3 separate regions of the Homo sapiens genome follow, and regions 1 and 2 are each linked to region 3. Evidence: promoter capture Hi-C in 16 types of primary human blood cells and fetal thymus (Javierre and others, 2016). All regions are on one chromosome and are shown on one strand. The core of a region is centred on a gene start or on the middle of the fragment in contact, and the rest is flanking DNA. Distances in the headings are between cores, read along the strand shown. Region 1 overlaps LINC00933 (long intergenic non-protein coding RNA 933). Region 2 overlaps ZNF592 (zinc finger protein 592). Region 3 holds the start of WDR73 (WD repeat domain 73).

Region 1 (3,949 bases), core at 1,283-3,782, 79 kb after region 3:
TAGAATTTGCTTTCATACATATTCTCTCTCATTTGATCCTCACAACTTCCCTGGGAAGCAGGTTGGAGAGAGAGTTGGGACCTGTTAGGAGACAAATTTACACAATGCATAAGAAAGCTCACTGTGAGTTGGGGTGAGGAGGGGAGCCTTGGAGAATCATGAAAGCAATATCTATATCTTTATTCCCAGCCCAACTACAAAGCCTGAAACTCATTAGGTATTTAAGAAATAGCTGCTGAATTATTGCCTAGGGGTGCTCAGCTGAAGAAGGAGGGTTGGGACTAACAGTCAAGCTTCCTGACTCCTAGCCCAATACTTTTCCAAACACACCACCTATTTTTCTATATCTGATAGAAAGTACAGTGCTTAAGTTGTACATGATGTTATCTCACTTTTAATACAGGCCAATCATGATTGACTATATGTGGCTTTCATGACAATCTTAGGAAACTAATGACTAGAAAGTTGAACCTTTCAGAGTTCCCATTCTCATGTTATATGCTATTTCTATTTTGAAATAAAAATCCTTCCAAATGAAACTTTATCCATCAAAATGTCAGAGAAGTGAAAAATAGATGCAAGAAGAAAGCAAAACGTTAATTTCAATATCAGCCGGGTGTGGTAGCTCATGCCTGTAATCCCAGCACTTCGGGAGGCTGAGGTGGGCAGATCACAAGGTCAGGAGATCAAGACTACCTTGGCTAACACGGTGAAACCCCGACTCTACTAAAAATACAAAAAATTAGCTGGGCGTGGTGGCAGGCACCTGTAGTCCCAGCTACTCAGAAGGCTGAGGCAAAAGAATGGCATGAACCTGGAAGGCGGAGCTTGCAGTGAGCTGAGATCCCACCACTGCATTCCAGCCTGGGCAACAGAGTGAGACTCCATCTCAAAAAAAAAAATTGGGGGCCTGGTAGTTAAAAATCAACCCCTGACCTAACTGCTTGTGTTATCTATAGATTCCAGACATTGTATGGAAAAGCATTGTGAAAATCCCTGTCCTGTTCTGTTCCATTCCAATTACTGGTGCATGCAGCCCCCAGTCACATACCCCCTGCTTCCTCAATTGATCACGACCCTCTCACACAGACCCCCTTAGAGTTGTAAGCCCTTAAAAGGGACAGTCATTGCTTACTTGGGGAGCTTGGCTTTTGAGATGCAAGTCTGCAGAAGCTCCCAGCTGAATAAAGCTCCTTCCTTTTTTAACCTGGTGTCTGAGGAGTTTTGTCTGCAGCTCATCCTGCTACAATATGTCATGGACCAACCTCAAAAACATTAGCTAAGTAAAAAAGCCAGACACGAGACCACATATTGTATAATTCCATTGATTTGAAATGTCCAAAAAAGGCAAATTTATAGAGAAAGAAATGGGCTGATTTATCTCAAGAGGCAGGGATTCAAGCTTTCTAGACTATATGTGATACATAGATGAGAAAAAATAAGGAAAAGAAAATAAATTTAAATAGAAATAAATGAAAATAATACTTCTCCCTGATTATAAAGAAAATCATATTCTTTTTCTAATAATTTGGAAGACAAAATATGAAGAAAAGTCTTTAATTTTGCCACTCAAAACATTCTGCCTTGTTGCTTTTTATACTTTTTTATGCATATACACATTTTAAAAAGTAGAATCATTATATAGTCTTTTGTCACTATGTTTTAGGCATATTTCTATGGCAGTAAATCTATCCTTAGCATCATCATTTTTAATAGCTCGATGTATATTAACTTAATCATTGCCACCCCAGAAATAAATTTTCTTATATGTATATTTTTAGTGGATTAGAGCAAGCATTTTTGGATTTAATTCATAGAAGTAGAATTTCTGGAGGAAAATAACGTACAACAGTTTTAGGGTTTTTAATATAAATTTTCAAATTATCCTGCAGAAAAATTGGTTCAGTTTATACTCCCACCAACAGGGGCAGAGCTCCAGTTTCCCCCTCCCATTTGTCCTCTTCGCTGGTCTTTAAGCAGAAAATCTGATTGTTTTCATTACATTTATTTGGTTTCTAACGCTTTTGAATCTTTTTTTTTTTTTTTTTTTGAGATGGAGTCTTGCTCTGTCATCCAGGCTGGAGTGCAGTGGTGCAGTCTCAGCTCACTGCAATGTCTGCCTCTTGGGTTCAAGCTATTCTCTTGCCTCAGCCTCCAGAGTAGCTGGGATTACAGGTATCCACCACCACACCTGGCTAATGTTTGTATTTTTAGTAAAGACAGGGTTTCACCATGTTGGCCTGGCTGGTCTCACATTCCTGATCTTAGGTGATCCTCCTGCCTTGGCCTCCCTGAGTTTTGGGATTATAGGCATGAGCCACTGCACCCAGCCACCACAGCTAACTTCTTCTTTTTTTTTTTTGAGATGGAGTCTCACTGTGTTGCCCAGGCTGGAGTGCAGTGGCCCGATCTTGGCTCATTGCAAGCTCTGCCTCCCGGGTTCACGCCATTCTCCTGCCTCAGCCTCCCAAGTAGCTGGGACTACAGGCGCCTGCCACCATGCCCGGCTAATTTTTTTTTGTATTTTCAGTAGAGATGGGGTTTCACTGTGTTAGCCAGGATGGTCTCGATCTCCTGACCTCATGATCCGCCCGCCTCAGCCTTCCAAAGTGCTGGGATTACAGGTGTGAGCCACTGCGCCTGGCCGCAGCTAACTTCTAATGAGGCCACCTTAGACAAGTTACTTACTGTCTCTGAGTGCAGTGGTGCAGTAATGGCTCACTGTAACCTTGATCACCTAGACTCAAGAGATCCTCCCACCTCAGCCTCATGAGTAGCTGGGACTACAAGCCTGCACCACCACACCCAGTTAATTTTTCTAGTTTTTGTAGAGACAGAGTTTTGCTATGTTGCCTAGGCTGGTCTTGAATTCCTGGCCTAAAGCAATCCTCCTGCCTTGGCCTCCCAAAGTGCTGGGATTACAGGCATGAGCCACCATGCCCACATTTTCTTTTCCAAGCTATATAGAGGATGCTGTATGCATCCTTCTGGAACTTGTTTTTTTTCACTTAATATTATATTGCTAAGATTCATCCTTATTGTTGTTTATAGCTGGCATTCATTCTTTTTGTATGTTGTGACATCACCAGAAGATAGAGATCCTGAGATCTCTTAAGAACTGCTGCTGGGAGTATACACTGGTATAACCACTTTGGAAAACAATTTGGCTCCATCTCATAAGGCTGAATATTCATACTCCTCCCAGCTCAGCAATTCTACTCTACATCCAAAAGAAATTCTTGCCTATATAAAACAATATAAAACAGGGGATGTGGACAAGGAATGTTCCTAACAGCTCTGTTCAAAATAGCAAAAACCTATTTCCCATCAGCTGGAGAGTGAGCGACTAAATTGTGCTTTTTATTCCCTTTAATTTCCAGTAGTCTTAGGATGCAAGTGGCTTTCCCATGGCTAGCTTGGGGAGGGGGATACTCTTGGCAATGGAGTCTGGGGTGGCAGTCCTGATTAGCCCTAGGGCAATCAGTGCTGCCCAAAACAAGAGAAAATAGAACAAGGTGCCCCACTGAGCCAATGCCCTGGGTCCCTGGAGGTACAGGTTTGTACCTGGAGGAAATAGCCATCATACAAATCAGTCTTTTCAAATGCTTCTGTCACTGGGCTGAGTCCAAAGGACACCCTTTCCCAAAACATTACAAAGCTTATTGGGGCTACCATTTATTGAGCATTTATCATGTGCCTGATCATGTACTAGTGTAGTAATTGTGTGCATTATTTCATTTATTTATTTATTTACTTACTTATTCATTGATTTGAGATAGGGTCTCTCTCTGTTGCCTGAGCTGGAGTGCAGTGGCGTGATCATGGCTCACTGCAGCCTCAAACTCCTGGGCTCAAATGATCTCACCTCAGCCTCCCGAGTAGCTGGGAATACAGGCATAAACCATCAAGTCCAGCTAATTTTTTAAAAAACATTTTCGGGCCGGGCAGG
Region 2 (3,986 bases), core at 664-3,163, 120 kb before region 3:
CCCATATAACCTCACGAGTGTAGAACGTCGTGTCAACCTGCATTTGCATATTAAAAAGCTAGGGTGGGAGGGCCAGCTTTTTCTCGGGCTACGTGAATTACATGCCTAGTCAAACCAATCCCCTGAGCCCTATGCAAATCAAACACCGCCTCCTCCAGCCTCTGCATGTGTACCTGACTGGTATCCGTGGCAGGTAGGGACCTCCTCTTTCGGCTTTGGAGCCCCCCCTCCCTCTGTCTCCGTACGGGGGAGCGTCTTCCTTCTGTCTTCTCCCTTCCTTCTTGCCTATTAAACTCTCCGCTCCTTAAAACAAAAACAAAAACAAAAAGCCCTTACAAAGCAATAAGTAAAATATAAGCAACCCATTAGAAAAATGAGTGAGGGTGATGAGCAGGCAATTAAAAGAAGAAAGACAAATGGACAGACTAGAAAAAATACTCCAGAATGGAGTTACATTACAAGAATATTCCAAATGTTAAAAGTATCTAGGCCGGGCACGGTGGCTCACGCCTGTAATCCCAGCACTTTGGGAGGCCGAGGCGGGCGGATCACCAGGTCACGAGTTGGAGACTCCTGGCTAACACGGTGAAACCCCGTCTCTACTAAAAATACAAAAAAATTAGCCGGGCGTGGTGGTGGGCGCCTATAGTCCCAGCTACTCGGGAGGCTGAAGCAGGGGAATGGCGTAAACCCGGGAGGCGGAGCGTGCAGTGAGCTGAGATCGTGCCACCGCACTCCAGCCTGGGAGACAGAGCTAGACTCCATCTCAAAAAAAAAAAAAAAAAAAAAAAGTATCTCAACAGACGAAATTATTTTCTCTTTTGTTTATCTTCATTTTAAAATTATTCAAACTATGTTTCAAATTGTATTATTTACATAACTTCATTATTTTTAGCACTTTGGTGGTTATTATTTTCCCACAAGGTGGGATGACCGCTTGAGCCTAGGAGTTCAAGACCAACATAGTGAGACCCCATGCCTTTCTTTTTTTTTTCTTTTTTTTTTTTTTTGAGACGGAGTCTTGCCCTGTCACCCAGTCTGGAATGCAGTGGCGTGATCTCGGCTCACTGCAACCTCCACTTCCCGGGTTCCAGCAACTCTCCTGCTCAGCCTCCCAAGTAGTGGGGACTACAGACATGCATCACCACGCCCGTCTAATTTTTGTATTTTTAGTAGAGACGGGGTTTTGCCATGTTGGCCAGGCAGGTCTCAAACTCCTGACCTCAACTGATCCACCCACCTCAGCCTCCCAAAGTGCTGGGATTACAGGCGTGAGCAACTGCGCCCAGCCCCTCTTTTTTTTAAATGTAAAAATTTTTTTGATTATATTTTTAATATACAAAAAGGAAAAAAAATAGAAGAAACTAGGCAGGCCAAAAAATTTAAGGAGCTTCTTACAAAAGACTCTAAAAATAATATAACATTCTTTTCTTTCTTTTTTTTTCTCGCACTGTCTCCTGGGCTGGAGTGCAATGGCGTGATCTCAGCTCACTGCAACCTCCGCCTCCCAGGTTCAAGCGACTCTTCCAACCCAGTCTCCCGAGTAGCTGGGATTATAGGCACGCACCACCACACCCAGCTAATTTTTCTGTATTTTTAATAGAGACAGGGTTTCACCATGTTAGCCAGGGTGGCCTTGATCTCCTGACCTCGTATTCCACCGGCCTTGGCCGCCCAAAGTGCTGAGATTACAGGCGTGAGCTACCAGGTGTTTTGTTTTGTTTTGTTTTGAAACAGAGTCTTGCTCTGTCACCCAGGCTGGAGTGCAGTGGCATGATCTTGGCTCACTGCAACCTCCACCTCCCGGGTTAAAGGGATTCTTGTGCCTCAGCCTCCTGAGCAGCTGGGATTACAGATGTGTGCCACCATGCCCGGCTAATTTTTGTATCTCTAATAGAGATGGGGTTTCGCCATGTTGGCCAAGATGGTCTCAAACTTCTAGCCTCATGTGATCCACCCACCTTGGCCTCCCAAAGTGCTGGGGTTACAGGCATGAGCCACTGCACCCAGCCAAAAATCATTAATGTAAAATTCTTAAAGCACATCTGACATGGATCACCAGGGAAATGCTAGTTAGAAAATCAACAGAATAACTTAGTTAAAATAAAAGGTATAGTCAAAATAAAAAGTTTCAGCATACACCAGTATCTATAACCTGTTGGAAGCAGCAAGCCAAAGTTGAGAAGAGCAAACCACAGGCAGCTGCCTACCTTGCCTGGGGGCAGTCACTCAGGGACCAGAGCCATGTCCATGAACACCAGCCCAGGAACCATGGCCTGGCCTACAGAGCCTTTGTCAGAGGCTCACCCTGAAGCATCTGAACGAGCTAGATAGATCCAGACCTGGTAAGCTCACTGAGTGATCTAGAACAGCCTAGTCAAGAGGCAAGGCAGGATCACTGGTTTGGTGGCCTAGGCTGAGAGTAAATTTCACTCAAAGGTGAGATAGTGGAATTATGTAACAATATGAACAGTCCCCTTGGGGGTAAAGAACAACTCTAAGACTGGCAGATTGACAACTATACCCTCTCTCAGAATAAGTTTCTACCTAGGGAATATCTGGAAATATTTTTTAAAGATGAATATAAATTCATATTGTTTATTACAGAGTCTACTACTTTGCCCAGAAAATTTTACCAAACATTTAAGTAAACATATCAACTAGATGTGGGTAAGGAGCATCTTAGTTTTGAAAGGGCCTCAGCATGCCGAATCACCCTATTGGAATTATTTGAGGGTATAAAAACAATATGATTCGGCCGGGCGCAGTGGCTCATGCCTGTAATCCCAGCACTTCGGGAGGCCGAGGTGGGCAGATCACTTGAGGTCAGTTTGAGACCAGACTGGCCAATATAGCAAAACCTCATCTCTACTAAAAATACAAAAATTAACCAGGCATGGTGGTGTGCACCTGCAAACCCAGCTACTCAGGAGGCCGACGCAGGAGAATCTCTTGAATTCGGGAGGTGGAGGTTGCAGTGAGCTGAGATCGCGTCACTGCACTCCAGCCTGGGCAACAGAGCGAGACTCTGTCTCAAAAAAACAAAACAGAACAACAACAACAACAACAACAACAACACCCAGTATGATTAGCTGGATGCGGTGGCTCATGACTGTAATCCCAGTACTTTGGGAGGTTGAGGTGGGCAGATCGCTTGAGGTCAGGAGTTCGACACTAGCCTGGCCAACACAGTGAAACCCTGTCTCTACCAAAAATACAAAAATTAGCCAGGTATGGTGGCAGATGTCTGTAGTCTCAGCTACTTAGGAGGCTGAGACCGGAGAATCGCTTGAACCAGGGAGGCAGAGGTTGCAGTGAGCCAAGATTGCACCACTGTACTCCAGCCCAGGTGACAGAGCGAGACCCTATCTTAGGAAAAAAAAAGAAAAAGAAAAAGAAAACAGTGGCCAGGTGCTGGGACTCATGCCTGTAATCTCAGCACTTTGGGAGGCCAAGGCAGGTGGATCACCTGAGGTCAGGAGTTCAAGACCAGCCTGACCAACATGGCAAAACCCTGTCCCTACTAAAAATACAAAAACTAGCTGGGCGTGGTGGTGTACACCTGTAATCTCAGCTACTTGGGAGGCTGGGGCAGGAGAATTGCTTGAACCTGGGAGGCAGAGGTTACAGTGAGCCGAGATCACGCCATTGTACTCCAGCCTGAGCAACAGAGTGGACTCTGTCTCAAAAAACAAACAAACAAACAAACAAAAACCAGTATGATTATATATAATTATGGCAGAACTAGTAGACTAGTAGACAGAATTTCTACAGACTTTAAATGCTAAGATCCCACCAAAAAAAAAACAGAACAAAATAACAACTGACTTCCATAAAACTTGGGTGAATGTATGTTGTCTGTGTGCATCCGTATATATGTCTTCATGTAATTCCCATTCATGGGGAAATATAAACAGAGCTTTTAACCCATTGACTAATTTTGGACTAGTGATTTATGCTTTCATAAATTACCTAGAATGGTGGTT
Region 3 (3,519 bases), core at 242-2,741:
CAGACCAACTAGAGAATCTCAGAAGCAGCAGTGCCTACGTCTGGGGCTTCAGAGTGAGGTCTGGGGCAGAGCTGGGGTGGGGGAGTGAGGACGCTGACACTAGCCCAGCACCAAGCACTGTATTTGGATTTTCTTCCACGATCTTCTTTGACTGTCATGACCACCCTGGGTGGTTGGGGCTGTGTTCTGAGAAAACTACTGCCCCGACCCCTCCAAGGCAATTCAGGGTGCTCTGGGGCCTGCCTCAGCTGACAGCCTGCTGGTGCCCACCTCTGCAGACATCTGGCACTTAGGAATGGCAGGATGCCCCTATCTTTATCAGGAGCCCCTCCCTGGCTCAATTCTTCTGTATGTTTCTCTTCAGTACAGGAGGCTGCTGGTACAAATACTGCAGAAATGACACCAATAATGGGGCAGACACAACAGCGTGGCTTAGATTGTGCCCACCCAGGGAAGGTGCTGAATGGGACCCTGTTGATGGCCCCATCTGGATGTAAATCCTGAGCTCAAATCTCTGTTACTCCATTACTGTGATTTCTGGCTGGGTCACCAGAAATATCGCTGATGCAGACACAGATTATGTTCCTGCTGTATTTCCTGCTTCCCTGTTGAATTGGTGAATAAAACCTTGCTCTTTACATACAATGCCTGGTCCTCTCCTTTCACCCGTCTTTTAGGGGATGGGAGGAAAAGGGGGCTGGAGGGCAGAGTGTTCAGTGAGATGGGGCTGGCTCAAAAAGTCCAGAATACCCCATGCCATGGCACCAGCCTGGCACTGACTCTGGCCTCCTACCCATTCATTCAGCAAGCAAATAACGCCTGTTGCATGCCAGGCTTCGTGCCAGGCGCGGGGTTCTACTCTCATCTCTGCCACCTACTGGCGCAGGCAAGTGTCACTAGTTTCCTCGCTAGTAAAAGGGGGCTGCAGACACTACACTGCCGGGCTTTACTCAATACCCCCGCCGGACTTGGAGGGGAGCGCCGAGTTGGGATCCAGACCCTGCCGGCCGCTTCCTCTCTTCTCTGGCCGTCAGAAGGGTTGCCAGCGTTAGCAAATAAAAATACTGGACACCCAGTTAAATTCGAATTTCAGATAAACAATAATTTTATCTAATAAAATGTACCAAATATTGCATGAACATACTCGTAAGAAAGAAATTATTCACCGTTTTTCTGAAATTCGAATTTAACCGGGCGGTCCTGTATTATTTCTGGCCTTGGAGCATTCATTGCCCCTCTCTTGGGCTGCAAACACCTGGCCCTAAAACGGGCGATCATTTGGTCCTCAGGTCCTGCTTGGAGCTGACAGCGGGAAAGTCCCGATTTCAGGTCACTTTTCCCGGAGCTTTCGCGGAGAAAACCCGTAACCCACCCATGCCGGGCCGCAGCTCAGCCTGTTAACCCCGCCCCTAACGGGAGGCCCTGCCCACATCTCGCGAGAGCCGCGCGGCCCCCGAAGGCTCGCAGGCGGAAGTGAGACGCCGGAAGCGGTCGTTGCCATGGATCCTGGGGACGACTGGCTGGTGGAATCCTTGCGCTTGTAAATCGTACGGGGCTGGGACATGGGAGCTGGGCCTGGAGCTTGCCTGGCGGGCGGATGGGTGTGGGTGGAGGCACGTTGGGGATCCTGGTGCAGAGTGGGCCAGCTGTGGCCTCGGGGCTCGCCACCGTGGAGGACTCCGCCTGGGCCTAGGCCCCCATCTCTAGGAAATGGCTCCTTCCTGCGTGCGCGCGTTGTGAGATTACTAGTAAGAGCCGCGCTTGTGAAGACGCAGTGCCCAGTTAGTTTGCGCCAGCCTCTGAGTTCAGCTCAGAACACAGATGATCTCATTGATTCCTCACGTCAACCTTGGGAAATCTGGGTACCCTGGGACGTCCACACATGAGGACCGAGGCTCAGGGACATCAAGGGACTGGCCTGGTCCCAGAAACAGGGAGTAAAATGGGAAGTAAACTCAGTCCCACGTCTGCCTGACTCCAGAGTTTGGGCCACTGAACCATGCGGCTGCCATCTTGGAGTTCTTTGAGCTGTGAAGTGCTGTGCATCGTGTGATTCTGTGTCCCTTTTGTGCAGGTACCAGGATTTCTATGCATTCGACCTGTCAGGAGCCACTCGAGTCCTTGAATGGATTGATGACAAAGGTGGTATACCTTTCTAGCCCTGAAGGAGAGGGAATCTCACTCCTGAGCTGGGTTTCAGGAGCTAAGCCTAGAGGGACCCAACCCACTCTTCTGGGCACCTGAGAGTCACTTGTAGCAATTTGATGCCCCATCAGCACTAATATTCCTCTTATTAAGATCTCTGACCGGGAGCAGTGGTTCACGCCTGTAATCCCAGCACTTTGGGAGGCCGAGGCAGGCGGATCACCTGAGGTCAGGAGTTCGAGACCAGTCTGGCCAACATGGTGAAACCCCGTCTCTACTGAAAATACAAAAATTAGCCGGACGAGGTGGTGCACACCTGTGTACCAGCAGCTACTGGGGAGGCTGAGGCAGGAGAATCACTTGAACCCAGGAGGTGGAGGTTGCAGTGAGCTGAGATCACGACACTGTATTCCAGCGTGGCTAACAAAAAAAGTCTTCAGGCTGGGCACTTCAGGAGGCTGAGGCAGCGGGCAGATTGCTTGATCCCAGGAATTTGAGACTAACCTAAGCAAGGAAACCCTGTCTCTACAAAAAATACAAAAATTAGCCGAGCATGGTGGCTCACGCCTATAATCCCAGCTACTCTGAAGGCTGTGGTGGGAGGATCACTTGAGCCTGGCAGGTTGAGGCTGCAGTGAGCTGTGATCGGACCACTGCACTCCAGCCTGGCTGACACAGCGAGACCTTGTCTGAAAAAGACACAACCAGGTACTCAATTCCTCCATACAAGGCTGCACAGTGAAGGAATGTATCCTTACTTCGGGGGATTGCATGGTCTGCAATCTTTCTAACAATTTGTGACAGCTACCTCTGCTTCTTTTTCCAGGAGTCTTTGTTGCTGGCTATGAAAGCCTGAAAAAGAATGAAATTCTTCATCTGAAATTACCTCTCAGACTTTCTGTAAAGGAAAACAAGGTAACTTAAAATATAAATGCTGAGTATGTCAACTTTTATTTATTTATTAAACATTTGTGGAGCTCCTGTTATCTACCAGGTATTGTCCTGGATACTAGAAAGAGAGAAAGCGCTAGGCCTGCCCTTCTAGTCTAACAGAGGGAGGCACATATGCACAGAGATAAATGCTGTAGAATGTCTCGTGGTTTACAGAGGGCTATCAGAGGAGGAGGTCAGTTATACTTTATCAGAAATAGATTTAGGGAGCGATTAAGGATATAGAGGGCGGTCGAAATGCGTAGAGTGATTAAAGTCACCTAGTGAATGTGTGGTATATAAGGAGTGAGGAGAATATAGTGAGGACGGAACCTCAGGGAACACATTTAAGGGATGAGTACAGGAAGATGCACCCCCCCTCCCCAAAGAATACTAAGAAAGAACAGCCTCTGAGGTAAGAGGAATCTCAGAAAAGGTCAATGT

What was found. The method cuts DNA at HindIII sites, captures the fragments that hold promoters and counts their contacts. A CHiCAGO score of 5 or more calls a contact.
Region 1: a contact is called between a fragment that was not itself captured here and the fragment with the promoter of WDR73 in region 3, in 2 of 17 cell types (neutrophils and total CD8 T cells). The highest score is 5.7, in neutrophils.
Region 2: a fragment that was not itself captured here is called in contact with the fragment with the promoter of WDR73 in region 3 in 5 of 17 cell types (neutrophils, total CD8 T cells, total B cells and 2 more); the score reaches 10.9 in neutrophils.

What each region holds. Positions count from the first base shown.
Region 1 is chr15:84,573,660-84,577,608 of GRCh38, reverse strand. The region is part of intron 3 of LINC00933 (long intergenic non-protein coding RNA 933); the gene reads right to left. Among named protein-coding and RNA genes, the nearest start is that of LINC00933, 5.0 kb to the right of the region's middle. The HindIII fragment of the contact is 2,256 bases long and covers 1,405-3,660 here.
Region 2 is chr15:84,774,500-84,778,485 of GRCh38, reverse strand. ZNF592 (zinc finger protein 592) reads right to left here. Exons shown (of 11, transcript NM_014630.3): 3 at 174-303. Among named protein-coding and RNA genes, the nearest start is that of ZNF592, 28 kb to the right of the region's middle. The HindIII fragment of the contact is 7,525 bases long and covers 1-3,986 here.
Region 3 is chr15:84,652,255-84,655,773 of GRCh38, reverse strand. WDR73 (WD repeat domain 73) reads left to right here and starts at 1,491. Exons shown (of 8, transcript NM_032856.5): 1 at 1,491-1,540; 2 at 2,075-2,142; 3 at 2,972-3,060. The coding sequence starts at 1,500. It overlaps NMB (neuromedin B), which reads left to right. Exons shown (of 3, transcript NM_021077.4): 3 at 365-642. The coding sequence ends at 400. RefSeq lists enhancers at 1,505-1,744, 1,171-2,138. The HindIII fragment of the contact is 10,475 bases long and covers 1-3,519 here.